Regions from separate parts of the Homo sapiens genome. Here region 2 is linked to region 1. Evidence: promoter capture Hi-C in 16 types of primary human blood cells and fetal thymus (Javierre and others, 2016). All regions are on one chromosome and are shown on one strand. The core of a region is centred on a gene start or on the middle of the fragment in contact, and the rest is flanking DNA. Distances in the headings are between cores, read along the strand shown. Region 1 holds the start of EPN2 (epsin 2). Region 2 has its middle 12 kb from the start of SLC47A2.

Region 1 (7,548 bases), core at 1,379-3,878:
AAAAAAAAAAAGTCCGAAAACTTTTCAACTTTTGCAGGACTCTTATCAGAATCCCAATTCTTGGGAAATCCTCCGCTCATTATGGAAGAGGGTTAGTGATAACAGAGAATTTCTACAAAGGTTGGGTCATTTTTCAAGGCTGCATACACGATGCTAGATATTATCACTTGAAAGTTTTACATTTCTTCACACCTCGAGTGCTTGGCCCAACACACACTGCTGGAAGTTTTCCACAGAGCTCTCCATCTGGCCAGCTCAGGCTTCAGAGAGGCAAAAAGCCTCTGTAAACCAGGGAAACTTGGTACATCCCACAAGACAATCCGAACTGGCTCCTGGTCCGGGGACTTGTGGGACGCAGTCCTGAATCATGCCTTACAGTAACTTACACTTTACCAAAATCTTTAATAACCAGTATCTCATTCCCTGCTTACAAAAGAATAGCCCAGTGAGACTGGTAAAGATGACTAGCCCAATTTTAAAACCAGGGAAATAAATAAGCTTTTAAAATGTAAAAGTAAAAATACAGATAAATAAAAGATTTAGGCCGGGAGTGTTGGCTCACGCCTGTAATCCCAGCACTTTGGGAGGCCGAGGTGGGCGGATCACATGAGGTCAGGAGTTCGAGACCAGCCTGGCCAACGTGGCGAAATCCCGTCTCTACTAAAAATACAAAGATTAGCCGGGCGTGGTGGATGGCGTGCGCCTGTAATCCCAGCTACTCCGGAGGCTGAGGCAGGAGAATCGCTTGAACCCAGGAGGCGGAGGTTTCGGTGAGCCGAGATCGTGCCACTGCACTCTAGCCTGGGTGACAGAGACTCCGTCTCAAAAAAATAAATAAATAAAAAATTTAAAAGTTTAGGTGCGCTTCCCCAACACAATCACTTGTCCCAAAAACAAGCACCGAACAAGTACCATTCAGAAGCAAATTGTAGTCCCTTTTGATGTTCATTTAAATACAGATGAAAACTTAATTATCAATGCTAACTCAATCACTGCTGTGCCAGATTCAGCATAAGATTTTGTCAGCACCTAAAATTCTGTATCTAGAGCTACAAGAGGCACGTTTTCTGCCAAATCTTCGTTATATTACATAATGAGAGGAAGCTTGGATTCTTAAAATTCACCTTTTCCCATCATTTTAACACCCTGTTCCAATCCCTTCTTTCACAGGATATTTTCTGGAGGTGAAAAGGAATAACTCATTACTTCTCATATTTTCCTGCCCACTTTCTTGCATAAATATTAAAAATAAAGGGGAAGGTAGGGTCCTGAACATCTCCCTAAAAGATAAAAAAGTTATTAAATGTGGTAAACAGAGCCTGGAGACCTAGCTTCTAGTTCTGCACTGACACAGTATCACTGCGTGACCTTGGGCAAATTACTGCAGTTCTGGGCCTCAGTTTCCCTCATCTGAACCCTAATGATGGTTAAGCCCTCTCCGCTCTTAAAGCACAGATTTTAGATACGTCCCCAGGGAAGCACAACTGTGAAGGAGTCGCCCAGACGGACTCCTTGGGCGGAGAAACGGCCTTCCACAAGCTCCGGCGGGGGGATTCACAGGGAGCTCAAGCTGCCCCAGGGAAAGCCACTGGGCAAACTTCAGGTCGCAAACAAAAACCTGTTGGCACCGACTCCTCTAGCAAAGGCCAGCCTCCCAACGCGCTCGGCTCTCGGCTCTAGGGGAGCCGCCCCACAGGGAGAGAGAGGAAGTCTCTCCTGGAAGAGGCCAGACCCCACGCACCCATTCACCCACCCGGATCAGCCGAGCAGGACCGCCGGGCCGGGTGGGTCTCTGCCATCCCACGCGGAACAAAAGGCAGCTGGAGCCTGGCTCTTCCGCCCCCGTCCCCGCTGTTCCGTGGGAGTGGGGGCTGGGGAGTGGGGAGCCTGGTCCCCAAGGACGGAAGGGGGCCCTGCTACAGCCCCCAGGAAAGGTGAGACGGGCGGGATCCCGGACAGAGATAAGGACCCCTCCCCCGATTCCCGGAGGGCGCCCGGACCGGGCTCTGCACGGGGGCTGGCGGGAGACCAGGCTGGGCTCAGGAGGAAGGGGCGCCGGGCTCGGGGAGAGGAGGAACGTGCTCTGGGGAGGGGGCGGGGTTGTTCCAAGATGAACGGGGCTCCAGGATCCGAGGTAGGAGTAAGGGGCGCCCTGGACTCTGGGGACATAAAAGGAGATGCTCGGTGATAGGGACGGGTAAGGGGGGAGATCCTTGCAGCGGAAAGCTGGATCCAGATGGGAAGGGGGCCATGCTCCAGTCCGTGGGGCGGGGCCTGGTTGGAAAGAAGGGGATCCCCCAGAGCCTGGCGTAGGGACCAGCGGGGCGGCAGGGGCGCATGCCCTGGCGGGGCTGGTGAGGTAGGGGAGCCTGTGCTCTGGGGGCGTCCGCGCCCTGGAGAGGGGGAGGGTCCTCGCCCCGGGGACTCGCTCTGGCCTTGGAGCCCCACGGGCTGTGGCTCACCTCTGCTCCTCCGGGCCGGCGTGGGTGCGCCGCTGCGGCCACCGGCAGCGCTCGAGAGGCGGGAGCGACCGTAGCCCGCGGAGCCGCCGCCACCGCCGCGTCTGGCTCAGTTTGACACCCACACACCAGCCAACATGGCGGCCGGGAGGGGGCGCGCCGGACGCGTGCGCGCGCCCTCAGGCCCCGCCCCCGAGGCCCCGAGGTCCCGCCCCCACGCCCGCAGACCACGCCCCTGCGACCCCGCCAGAGCCCCTCCCTAGTGGCCCCTGCGCGGCTTCCCCTCCGCCTCCTGCGCTCCAGGACCCCACGCGGACGACCCACCCTTCCGCAGCGCCCCACAGTCGACGCCCGAGCCCCCAAAAAACCCCCAATCCCGAGCGCCACACAAACCCTGGCAAATTAATACCCGAACGCGCGCACTCTAATCCCCTTCAGGCCACTCCACCCCGTACACACTCACGGCCCCCCCACACTCACGGCCGGGCAGCACGCGCAGACCCCGCCCCGTCAAGCAGAAACTCACGCTCCGGCCTGCCGGTTTCACTCAAAAACCTTGTTCAGTAGGAGAGACTGGAAGGGGGCCAGGGCCTGCCGGGCGCTGGTAGGGTTGGGTTCTTAGGCTACAAGTGTGTTCACTTTATGAAGATGCGCGGAAGTACACTTTGGATTTGTGCGCTTTTCCGTGCGTGTATTTCACGTCAATAAAATATACTCAAAAACGGAGAAGTCTCTAGGCTTCTTTAGGCTGCTCAAGGGGTTACCTAAGGGCACGAATGGCAAGGGGTTACCTACATGGCACGAAAACGGAAACCCTTGACTGGCGGGCACCCACAAAGCACCTCCTCTGTGCCAAGCCCTGTGCTGGGCACAGAAATGAGACAGCCCCAAATGCCTCGAATGAGAGTCCCGGAACTGGAGGGGCCAGAACTGGAGGCTGCACCTCAAAGCTGACTAACCTGCTCCAATCAGGGTGGGAGTCAGCAGAGACTTCTCACAGCAGGGGCGCGGAGCATGAGTCAGGGCTTGCTAGGTGGGCAGAGGGCACCATCCCTGTTGCCTGGGTGACATCAACACTCTGCCTAGCCTTGGCTTCAGGGAAGCTGTGGCCAGAAGTCTTCCTCTGCCCTAACTCACTGAGGGACCTTAAACAAGTCACTGTACTTCTCTGAGCCTCAGATTCCTCCTCCCTGTACAGGAACCAGGGGATGAAAGTATCCCTTAAGGTTCTAACAACCCAGGATCTGGAATTCCATTCTCTGGCAAAAAAAAAAAAGGTTGTATCTTTCCAGGAATTCATCTATTTATTGTAAGTTTTTTAGTGTGTGTGCATAGACGTGTTCATAATAGTTTTTGAGGGCTTTTTTGTGTTTGTATGGGGTCGGTGGTAATGTCCTCTTTGCCCTTTCTGATTATGTTTACTTGTATCTTCTCTTTTTTCTTTATTAGTCTAGCTAGTGATACAATAAATACGATAAAAATGGAGAGAGCTTGTAACACGTTTGCAAAACCACATAGCCACTTTTCCTTTGAAAAGTCAAACACTGGTAGCTCTAGATGCTAGAAACACTCTCCAGTTAACCACCCTTCCCACTGCTTGGTGCCCCTTCTCCACCAGCAGAGGGAATTATGCCCTATGTGCCTGCCTTGCAGCAGAAGCCGGAGCTCCCCGTTTTGAACTTGGTCCACCCTCATCCCAGAGAATGCCCTCAACCAGTCCAACATTCCTTGTGAGCCTCACCTCTTTACCCCATCTCCAAGGAAAGCAGAACTTTACACTGCAATCATGCTTCTGCCCTGAGTTTACAATGTCAGATGAGTTATAACACAGAGCTGATGCACAGCACGGGCGTGATGCTTCTAAATCAGCACTGTTCAGCAGAATTTCCCTCCACGATGGAAATGTTCTTTCTGCGTGCTGTCCGTAGGATAGCTACGAGTCACAGGAGGCCAGCGAGCACTTGAAATGTGGCTAGTGAGACTGAGGGGCTGAATTTTTTAAACTTCATTAAACTTTTATTAATTTAAATGTAAATAGCCATATGTGGCTAGATGCTACCATGCTGACCAGTGCTGGTCTAAAACCTTACCACAATTCCACAAGTGCACATTCTTTTTTTATTTATTTGTTTTGAGACGGAGTCTCACTCTATTGCCCAGGCTGAAATGCAATGGCACAATCTCAGCTCACTGCAACCTCCATCTCCCAGGTTCAAGTGATTCTCCTGCCTCAGCCTCCCACGTGGCTGGGATTACAGGCCCGCACCCCCACACCTGGCTAATTTTTGTATTTTTAGTAGAGACAGGGTTTCACCATGTTGGCCAGGCTGGTCTCGAACTCCTGACCTCGTGATCCTCCCGCCTCAGCCTCCCAAAGTGTTGGGATTACAGGTGTGAGCCACCGTGCCCAGCAAGGTGCACATTCTTGCTGTTCACATTTTACAGACAAGAAATTGAGGTTTGGAGATATGCTGGGGCTTGGCCACCCAGGCCCACTTTTCCATATGCAGAGCCTAATACTCCCTTCACTACCCACCTAGCAAGTGTGTGTAGCCGCACAGATAATATGCAAGCCTGGAAAGAGAACTGGATACAGATAATGAGATGATGAGCTAACCTACAGGACAGGAAGTGAGTTGGAGAATACCAGATTAGCCCAGGCTTGGGAAGTGGAGGAGGGTGTCCTGAGGCCGGAAGACCGCCACGTGCAAGGTCAGAGGGGACATTCTTGCATTCCTCAAAGTCATTTCTCTTTCCTGGACCCCCTCCTTGAAGCGTATCAGCCCCCTGGCATTCCTCTCTCAATTCATCCTCATGATGATCCCTTGACGTCAGCAGCCCTATTCCTATTTTAGATGCGGAAACTGAGGCAGCATGTGGCAGGGCTAGGATTCAATTCCAGGTTCTATGAGTCTAGAGCACATAAGCAGTCTTGCAGAGGAACTTGCAGGATAAGCTGAACAATTTCATCCGTGCCCAAAGCAGTCCATGGAAAACAGGGCTGGAGGAGACACTCTCATCTGCCCTTGCAGAGGTTTGGAGGTTGGTTCCAGGTGGATAATGGAGCAGACTGATGGGGGCCGGTTGGAGAGGTGTATTTCAGAAGAAAGAGCTGGCAGTGCAGGCCAGGGGTGTCTCTGGGGTTAGGGAAGGAGGGTTTCAAGCAGGAAGGGACTTTGGGGGAAAGACTGGCAGGCAGCAGACAGGGACAGACTGCATGCTGAATGAAAAGAATCACTTAGCACAGGTGCAGAACAGGCTCCCCGGGATCTTCACCAAAGGCTTGAACTCTATATTCAAAACTATTTGTCCCACAAAAAGAAACTTGTGTTGGCAATCCAGAAACACCTAATTTCTTGTCCACCGACTTGCTGCTTGACCATGACGTCACTGCCCCTCCCTGGACCTCAGTTTCCCCATCTGTGAAGTGGGAATAATAACCCCTCCCACTCCCTAGGATTGCATTCTGGCTCAGGTGAAAAGGCAGAGGAGGAAATGCTTTGGAAACTGTAAATGCACTGGATGGGTGTTGATGGCAGTTCTCTTATTAAGGACATTGAAAAGAATGGAGCCATCCTTTCCCTTCTAGGGGTTGAAAGTCTAGGACAGAGAAGTTTTGAGTTTGGGCAGCATGAACATGAGCAGAAACCAAATGCCACATAGACAATCAAGAGAAAGAGCTATGACAGCTCTCACAGGAGGAAGTTTCCTTCTAGCCCATGGGGAAGGAAGGACCTGTGCCAACATCCTGGAAGTGCAGGTGCTGGAGAAAGGAACTAGTAACAATGACAACAAAGTAGTGAGCATTGTGCAAATGTTTTGCATGCAGTACCTCATTTCCTCTTCATAAAAAACCCTAAGAGGTAGAGACTACCGTTATCCTTATTTTACAGCTGAGGTTCAGAAAGCTTCCATTATTTGCCCAAGATAACACAGCTAAAAAGTGGTAACCCTGGAAAACCCAAGCCTAAACTCCAAAGCTAAACTTTTTTTCTTTGTTTTTTGAGACGAAGTTTCGTTCTTGTTGCCCAGGCTGGAGTGCAGTGGCGCGGAGTTCACCGCAACCTCCGCCTCCCAGGTTCAAGCAATTTTCCTACCTTAGCCTCCCAAGTAGCTGGAATTACAGACATGTGCCACCACACCTGGCTAATTTTTGTATTTCTAAATTTATTTATTTATTTATTTATTTAAGATGGAGTCTCACTCTGTTGCCCAGGCTAGAGTCCAGTGGCGCAATCTCGGCTCATTGCACCCTCCGCCTCCCTGGTTCAAGCGATTCTCCTGAGTAGCTGGGATTACAGGCATGTGCCACCATGCCCAGCTAATTTTGGTATTTTTTTAGTAGACACGCCGTTTCACCATGTTGGTCAGCCTGGTCTCGAACTCCTGACCTCAAATGATCCGCCTGCCTTGGCCTCCCAAAGTGATGGGATTACAGGCATGTGCCACCATGCCCAGCTAATTTTGGTATTTTTTTAGTAGACACGTGGTTTCACCATGTTGGTCAGCCTGGTCTCCAACTCCTGACCTCAGATGATCCGCCTGCCTTGGCCTCCCAAAGTGATGGGATTACAGGCATGAGCCACTGCACCCGGCCCTTCTATTTTTTTAGAGACGGGGTTTCACCATGTTGGCCAGGCTGGTCCTGAACACCTGAACTCAGGTGATCTGTCCACCTTGGCCTCCCAAAGTGCTGGGATTACAGGAGTGAGCCACCATGCCCAGCCTTTTGTGTGTGTGTGTGTGTGTGTATGTGTGTGAGAGAGAGACCGGGTCTTGTTCTGTCACCCAGGCTAGAGTGCAGTGGCACAATCATGGTTCACTGCATCCTCAATCTCCTAGGCTCAAACAATCCTCCTACCTCAGCCTCCCAAGTAGCTGGGACTACACCACACCTGGCTATTTTTTCCAATTTTTTTGTAGAGACAGGATCACATAATGTTGCCCAGGCTGGTCTCAAACTCCTGGAGTTGATCCCCCTGCCTCAGCCACCCACTCAAAGTGCTGAGATTACAGGGATGAGCCACCATGCCTAAAACTAAACTCTTGGGAAGAATCTGAATAGGCTGAAGGGAGCGACTCCTTCTCC
Region 2 (7,548 bases), core at 3,524-6,023, 490 kb before region 1:
CTCGTCCATCTCCTTTTTCTATGTGTTGTTAGTATGACACAATTTACAATATTACCTACTTTATTCATAATGCCCCAAGTCTGACCTTTTCTGAACTAATTCTATTTCCAAATTAGATCTCAATTTAAAATAAAACAGCAATTTAAAAAAATTGGTCTAGTCCCAACACCATGATTTAATCTACTGTTTTTTCTTTCTATGACATGGATTAAGGAATGGGCTGGAAAAAAATATTTGCCCAATTATGATTCAACCTTTCCACATAATTGCTATTGTCCAAAACATAAAGACCAAGGATAATCGCAACTCTCGTGTCACCAAGGAGAGCAGGTGACATTTCCGGATTGCACATTGCAATCCATGCCATGCTATGCATGGTGCACAGAAGGGGGCCTACTTCTGCCCAGGAGCCACAGCCATAGCATGCCATTGTTGAGTCCATTGATTGCTCCTGGTGTTTAGATTCTCAGATTAAAAAAAAAATGTATGTAATCCCAGCACTTTGGGAGGCTGAGGCGGGCAGATCATTTGAGGTCAGGAGTTTGAGACCAGCCTAACCAACATGGTGAAACCCCTTCTCTACTAAAATACAAAAATTAGCTGGGTGTGGTGGCAGGTGCCTGTAATCCAGCTACTCTGGAGGCTGAGGCAGGAGAATCGCTTGAACCTAGGAGGTAGATGTTGCAGTGAGCCAAGGTAGCATCTCTACACTCCAGCCTGGGTGACAGAGTGAGACTCTGTCTCAAAACAAACAAACAAAAAAACAAAGCAAAACAAAAGAAAATGTAGAGTCTCTCCCAAACAGGAAACTAAAAGGCAAAGTCTCAAGCCATAAAAGGCTTCCGTCTCTGTTGCATTGCTGATGCCCTCTGTCTCCTGATGTTCTAGAGCAGAAGGGAAGATTGCGCCCACCTATGGGTTCCTCCAGCAGGCAGTCGTGGCGGGGACTGCGCTCGAGGAGCTCACCTTGATGGGAGCGTCTTCGGCAGGACCTGCAGGGTTATGCGGCAGGAACAAGTTAACCTCAGAATGGCGGCGGCTACAGAGGAGGTTGGGGGAGCTCTGCTCCACAAGGTCAACCAGAGAGGAGCTGACAGAGCCTTCACCATCTCAGTGCAGGGCTAGGGGTTCACCAAAGCAGGGAAGGGAGAACTGGAGAGGCCACCCCAGATCACCTCCACTCATAGCCCACTGGCCAGGACCACAGCCCAGAGCTGAAAGGGTTCTGGGAACTGTGGAGGAGCAGTCGTTATTTGTTGAGCAGCAAATGTCCCTGCTGCATGGACAGAGAAAGACAATAAACACAGGAATAAAGTGACATGAGAACTACCCTACAAAGCCAGGCCACGCCATGCAGGTCATGAGGGGTGTGCTGGTGTTTAGAGACCATTGGTTGAGGACTTGCCTGAGGGAAAGGTAGGGCACGGGCCCCTGAGCTCCAACCCTGACCTGCAATGACTCTTGTCCCCTCTCCCCCAACTGCTGCCATCCAGGCAGTTCCCACACCATCTGCCTTGAATGTGGGGCCCCCGGCTCCAGAGCCCTCACTGCTCTGCCGGGACTCCCCTCTACTCCTTGGCCACCTCTCTGCTCATCCCACTTTGGGGTACTCAAGGCTGAGCGGGTGACATTTCCCGGATCCCAATCTGTCAGGATGATGTTGAAATAGCAGCAAACTAAGATTCAAAAAGTTTAAAAAAGGAACTTCACCAGCTCACACTCCAGAAGGCTGCAGGGAGGACTGGTGCCAGGCTTGGACTCAGCTCCGCCTCTGCTGTGGGCCAGCCCTGCCCAGGGGACAGCAGGGTGGCTCCTTCTCTGAGTCCCCTTCTTTCCCAAAATTTCTCTGGAGTCACCTTGAGTGGCTGGACTGACTGCCTGGACTGAGCAAGCGTGGCAAACACTGCTGTTGCCTGTGCAAATCTGTTCCTCCTCCCTCATTGTTAACAGAATTCAATTTTGAAAATTTCTTTAAAAATGATGATGCTTAGGATCCTGAGATTTTCATCCTATGTTCTAGGCTAGAGCCAGGGCATCACTATATCTGGGTTATATGTTATTTGTTTGTTTTTTGTTTTTTGTTTTAGACAGAGTCTCACTCTGTCACCCAGGCTGGAGTGCAGTGGCACAATCTTGGCTCACTGCAAACTTCACCTCCCGGGTTCAAGTGATTCTCCTGCCTCAGCCTCCCGAGTAGCTGGAATTACAGGTGTGTACCACCACGCCCAGCTAATTTTTGTATTTTTAGTAGAGATGGGGTTTCACCATGTTGGTCAGGCTGGTCTCGAACTCTTGGCCTCAAGTGATCCACTCACCTTGGCCTCCCAAAGTGCTGGGATTACAGGCGTGCACCACCACGCCCAGCTAATTTTTAGTAGAGTATTTTTAGTAGAGATGGTGTTTCACCATGTTGGCCAGGCTGGTCTCAAACTCCCGACATCAAGTGATCTGCCCGCCTCAGCCTCTCAGAGTGCTGTGATTACAGGCACCTGCCCGGCCCCTCAGGCCTTTTTTGTAAGGGCACTAATCACCTCCCAAAGGCCCCAAACTCCTAATACCATCACACTGGGGACAAGGATTTCAACACCTGAATGCTTAGGGGGACACAAACATTCAGATCATAGCACCAATAAAAACAGATGCACAAGAAAGGGCGACCCCTCTCCCGCCAGAGAGTGGCATGTCTGGTTGTGAACTTGGAATGCACAGCCATCTTGTGGCCATGAGGACAGCCCTGAGGCGAGGCCGGCGGGCTGAGACCGGCTTAGTAGGGAGATGATGCCCCTGGGCTGCTCTGGGATGTGAATGAGCTGCTGGAGCTGCCTTCCCTTTAACAAATTTTCTTTTCCTCAAGCCATTTTGCCATTTTGAAGCATTTCCCATTACTTACATCTGAGAGCCTCTTATCTCTCCTCCTCTTACCGCTTGGTGTACTCCTTGTTCCAGTGTCTCCTGAACAGGGCGGGCTTGTTCTCCTGAGACTTCTGCTTAGACCTCCCAGCACCTCCTCCCTCCAAGTCTCTTCCTCCCCAGGACTGCAGGGCGTCAGCAGGGCCTCCAGACTGTAGACACCCGCGCAACGCCAGTCTTTGTGCAGATCCCTGCGCACACACACCACCCACCTGAGGCCACCCTGCAACTGTGAAAGTCAAGAACTCCCTGTCGGCCGGGAGCGGTGGCTCACGCCTGTAATGCCAGCACTTTGGGAGGCTGAGGCGGGCGGATCACTTGAGGTCAGGAGTTTGAGTCCAGCCTGGCCAACATGGTGAAACCCCGTCTCTACTAAAAATACAAAATTAGCTGGGCGTGGTGCTGCACACCTGTAGTTCCAGTTATTTGGGAGGCTGAGGCAGGAGTATCGCTTGAACCTGGGAGCTGGAGGTTGCAATGAGCCGAGATCTTGCCATTGCACTCCAGCCTGGGCAACAAGAGCAAAACTCCATCTCAAACAAACAAAACCTTCCTGTCATGGGCTCAATCCAAGGGAAGCTGGGACTGGGAAGCTGGCACTGCCATCACCACTGTAACTGCTTCTTGACACTCACAGAAGCGGCTGCTGGATAAGAGATCACTAGTGCAGGAAACCCAGCAACCAAAGCAGCCAACTCTTTTTTTTTTTTTCTTTTTTTTGAGACAGAGTCTCCCTCTGTCACCCAGGCTGGAGTGCAGTGGCTTGATCTCAGCTCACCACAACCTCCGCCTCCTGGGTTCGAGTGATTCTCCTGCCTCAGCCTCCCCAGTAGCTGGGATTACAGGCGCCTGCCACCACGCCCGGCTAATTAATTTTTTTTTTTTTTTAGTAGAGACAGGGTTTCAGCATGTTGGTCAGGTTGGTCTCAAACTCCTGACCTTGTGATCTACCCTTCTCGGCCTCCCAAAGTGCTGGGATTACAGGCGTGAGCCACCGCGCCTGGCCCGAAGCAGCCAACTCTCACACAAGTGCATCTGAAGTGCAGAACTTCATTCTTCCCTGGAACCCTGCCCCAGGGGAGTCTGGGAAATGTGGGTTTTAGCTGCTGCTGCATAGAGAGCTGTGAGCAGGAGGTGGAAGGGAAGCTGAGGGCCAAGTGATCGATCATACCCAACCATGTGAACGTGGGTGGCTGGCCCACCCCCGGGCCTATCTTTCAGCTACTAATTGGTTACCTCAGTGTTTGCCTCCTAGGGTTGGTGTGGATTAAATGAGATTGTGCAGGTAAAGCACTTGCGCCTAATCGGGGGCTAATGAATATTAGTTCTTATTATTTCCAATACTTTTTCCTTCTAGCTCTGTGGTTCTCCAAGCCTGAGCTGCTCAGACCTCTGAAATGGGCCCCAGAGGTCACTGGAGAGTTTGCAGAAGGTTCAGAAAGAATAGTCCTGAGAGGGATGACCCAGGCCCCTGCCTGCCTGGACACACCACTGTCTGCGCCCAGGCCTCTCTCTCAGCTATGCCAAGCAGCCGCTGATTCTCCAGCCAAGGGTGTTATATAAGCTTCATCTTTTCCTTTGTTTACAGGAAATTTTGAAAACACCAACTGGGCTTGGCCTGAGCTCCTTCATTCCTAAAGGCAACAGAAATTGTTTGGGCAGGAGAGGCAGCCACACGCAAAGCAGCTGCCCTGGCACAGGGCCAGGCCTTGCAGGACAGGCAGCTGCTGGCAATCGTGAGGTCAGGCACTCTTGTCGTTCAGGGCCAGGATCTGCGGTGCCTGGGGGAAGCCGTGTACTTCTGGATGTGCAGCTTTCACCCACACCCATTGGGCCCTGCCTTGGTTTCCCTGCCTGATGCTGCAGTTCTCTGCCATGATGGCAGCTCTCCACCCTGCCAGACCCTGCCTCTGGGAGGCCTGGGATGACCTGGGAGCACTTTCTAGGGTTCTGCCAACAGCTCAGACAGATCTCAGCCTCTTAGCAGAGCAGGAGGAGTAGGAGGCACCTCAGCCTGGGTGGGGTGGGAGGACAAGGGCAGATGGGAAGGAGATATCCCCTCTTCTCTGCTTTGACCCACGCTTCTAAGTGGACAGGTGGGGGAAAGCTCACACCCTTCGTTTCCTCACATGACAATGGGGCTGTGCAGGTGCCAAGCTTCCCGAACAACTGCCTTGCCCATCCTAGGAAAGTTGCCTAGGCCTGGTCCCCGGGAACTGCTTTAATGGAACATCTTCTATTTGAGCCAGGGCCAGACATGATCTCACAAGTCCTCATGTGATCTGCTGGGAAACAAATGTTTGTTGCTGGTAACTTGTGCTTGAGCAAGACAACAGCTCTCTGTTTCCCAAGGCTTGTATGCCTGATAGAAGTTTACAGGGTAGCTGACTGGTAGAAATTGGCACCAGGAGTAGAAGTTTCTACCAGAAATTCCCAACTGGATTTTCTACACCTTCCCTACCTTGGGAAGGCAAAGGGGTGAGGACAGAGAGACCTAGCCCCGGCTAGACACCCTGACAGTAGGAAGGCTGGGCCTTCCTGACCATTCTGACACTGAGTTCTTTTTCAGGCCAACAGTTGCTAGACAGACAGAAAAAAATATTTTCTTTCTAGTTCTGCTCCTAAACCTGTGCTCACTATGATGTAAGTTGGAGAGGTTTTTCCATAAGCACACATACTGTTACTCCTCTATCCAGTGTCCATGGCAGACATTACAAGTTGATCACCGCACTCTTGTTTGCTTTGCTGAATCCGCTGAATTCACAATATAGCAATGCAGTACAACAGAGTAGAACTGGCAGGCTGGAGAAAAGCTATCTGTCATCCCAGATGAAGTAGAAAGGATGTGCACTTGGATAGGAGACAGACTCAGCCTCATATTCTGAGTCTGCCACTTTCTAGCAGTGTGACCTTGGGCAAGTACTTTCTTTCTCTGAGCTTCAATCCTGTCATTTGTAAAATGGGAATAAGTATATCTGCCTGAAAAGGTTGGCATTAAATGAGATTAAATGAGATGTGTCTCGTGCTGCACAATTAGCACATAATGGAGGCTCCGATTCCTACATATATCATTACATCATCACATACACTCCTACACACCATTCAGACGTATTCTGTGGGGAATTTGTAGAAATGAAAATGCTAAACGCCAAGCCAAAGTTTTCTTTCCAAGCCAAAGGAGTCATCTTCTCCTTCTCCCCCCCCTCCTCCTCGTTCTCCTCCTCTTACTCCTTCTTCAAAAATATTTGTTATGTAACAAAATGTGTTATGCAGATTATTTAACCTACTTAAGAAAAGAAACCTGAGAACTTTTACAGTGTTCATTGATATATAAGTAATGTCTGGGCTACTTACAAATGAGTTTCATCTAGTCTATGTCTTTAAGACATCAGGAGCCAAGGACCCAGAATTTTAGCATGAAAGAAAAAAGGACCATAACATTGGATAAATGTCTACTAGGTTCCAGACACTTACATCTATGTTAGCCTATCTCCTTCTTGTACCAATACTGTATGTCAGGTTTGTTTTTATTTGTATTTTAATCGTGATAAAATACACACAACATAAAATTTACCATCTTGGCTGGGTGAGGTAGCTCACACCTATTATCCCAGCACTTTGGGAGGCCCGGGGCGGGTGGATGGATCATTTGAGGTCAGGAGTTCGAGACCAGCCTGGCCAACATGGTGAAACCCTGTCTCTATTAAAAATACCAAAATTAGCTGGGTGTGGTGGTGCACGCCTGTAATCCCAGCTACTTGGGAGGCTGAGGCAGGAGGATCGATTGAATCCAGGAGGTGGAGGTTGTAGTGAGCAGAGATCACGCCATTGCACTCCAGCCTGGGCGACAGAGACAGACTCCATCTCAAAAAAAAAAAAAAATTACCATCTTACCCGATTTAAGTGTACAGTTCAATAGTTAAATACCTTCACATTGCTGTGCAAGCAGTCTGCAGAACTCTTTTCATCTTGCAAAACTGAAACAATTTACACTTTAAACAACTCCCACCTTCTCTCCAGCCCCTGACAACCACCATTCTACTTTCTGTCTCTTGGAATTTGACGACTCTAAGTCCCTCAGGTAAGTGGAATCACACAGTGTTTGTCCCTTTGTGTCTGGCTTATTTCATTCAGCAAAATGTCCTCAAAGTTCATCCATGTTATATGTGGCATCTGTCAGAATTTCCTTCCTTTTTATGGTTGAGTAGTATTCCGTCATATGCATGTACCGCATTTTGGTGACTCACGCATCTGCTGATGGACACTAGGGCTGTTTCCACCACTGGCTGTAGCGAATAATGCTGCTGTGAACATGGGTGCACAAATATCTTTTTGAGTCCCTGCTTTCAGTTCTTTTGGGTATTTATGGAAATGGAGTTGCTGGATCATATGTAATTTTATTACAAGGAAGGAACAAACTAAAGAGAGTAAATGACTCGCCCAAGGTCAACACAACGAAAAAGTGGCAGAATCAGAATGTAATCCAAGTCTATCTGAAGTGAGCTTAAATTATGTATTTCCTTTCTCTCATTCCAGTTGGGTTAAACAAACAACCTCACGAAGGGCGTGCAGGTATGAGGAGCAGGTGGGGATGTCCTCTTTCCCCGCAGGCTAACATAGGTCTGATGGGTCAAGAAA

What was found. The method cuts DNA at HindIII sites, captures the fragments that hold promoters and counts their contacts. A CHiCAGO score of 5 or more calls a contact.
Region 2: a fragment that was not itself captured here is called in contact with the fragment with the promoter of EPN2 in region 1 in 1 of 17 cell types (megakaryocytes); the score reaches 5.2 in megakaryocytes.

The regions. Positions count from the first base shown.
Region 1 is chr17:19,232,446-19,239,993 of GRCh38, reverse strand. EPN2 (epsin 2) reads right to left here and starts at 2,628. Exons shown (of 11, transcript NM_014964.5): 1 at 2,463-2,628. RefSeq lists a silencer at 2,251-2,720. The HindIII fragment of the contact is 5,263 bases long and covers 1,107-6,369 here.
Region 2 is chr17:19,725,271-19,732,818 of GRCh38, reverse strand. No RefSeq gene overlaps it. Among named protein-coding and RNA genes, the nearest start is that of SLC47A2, 12 kb to the right of the region's middle. The HindIII fragment of the contact is 593 bases long and covers 4,477-5,069 here.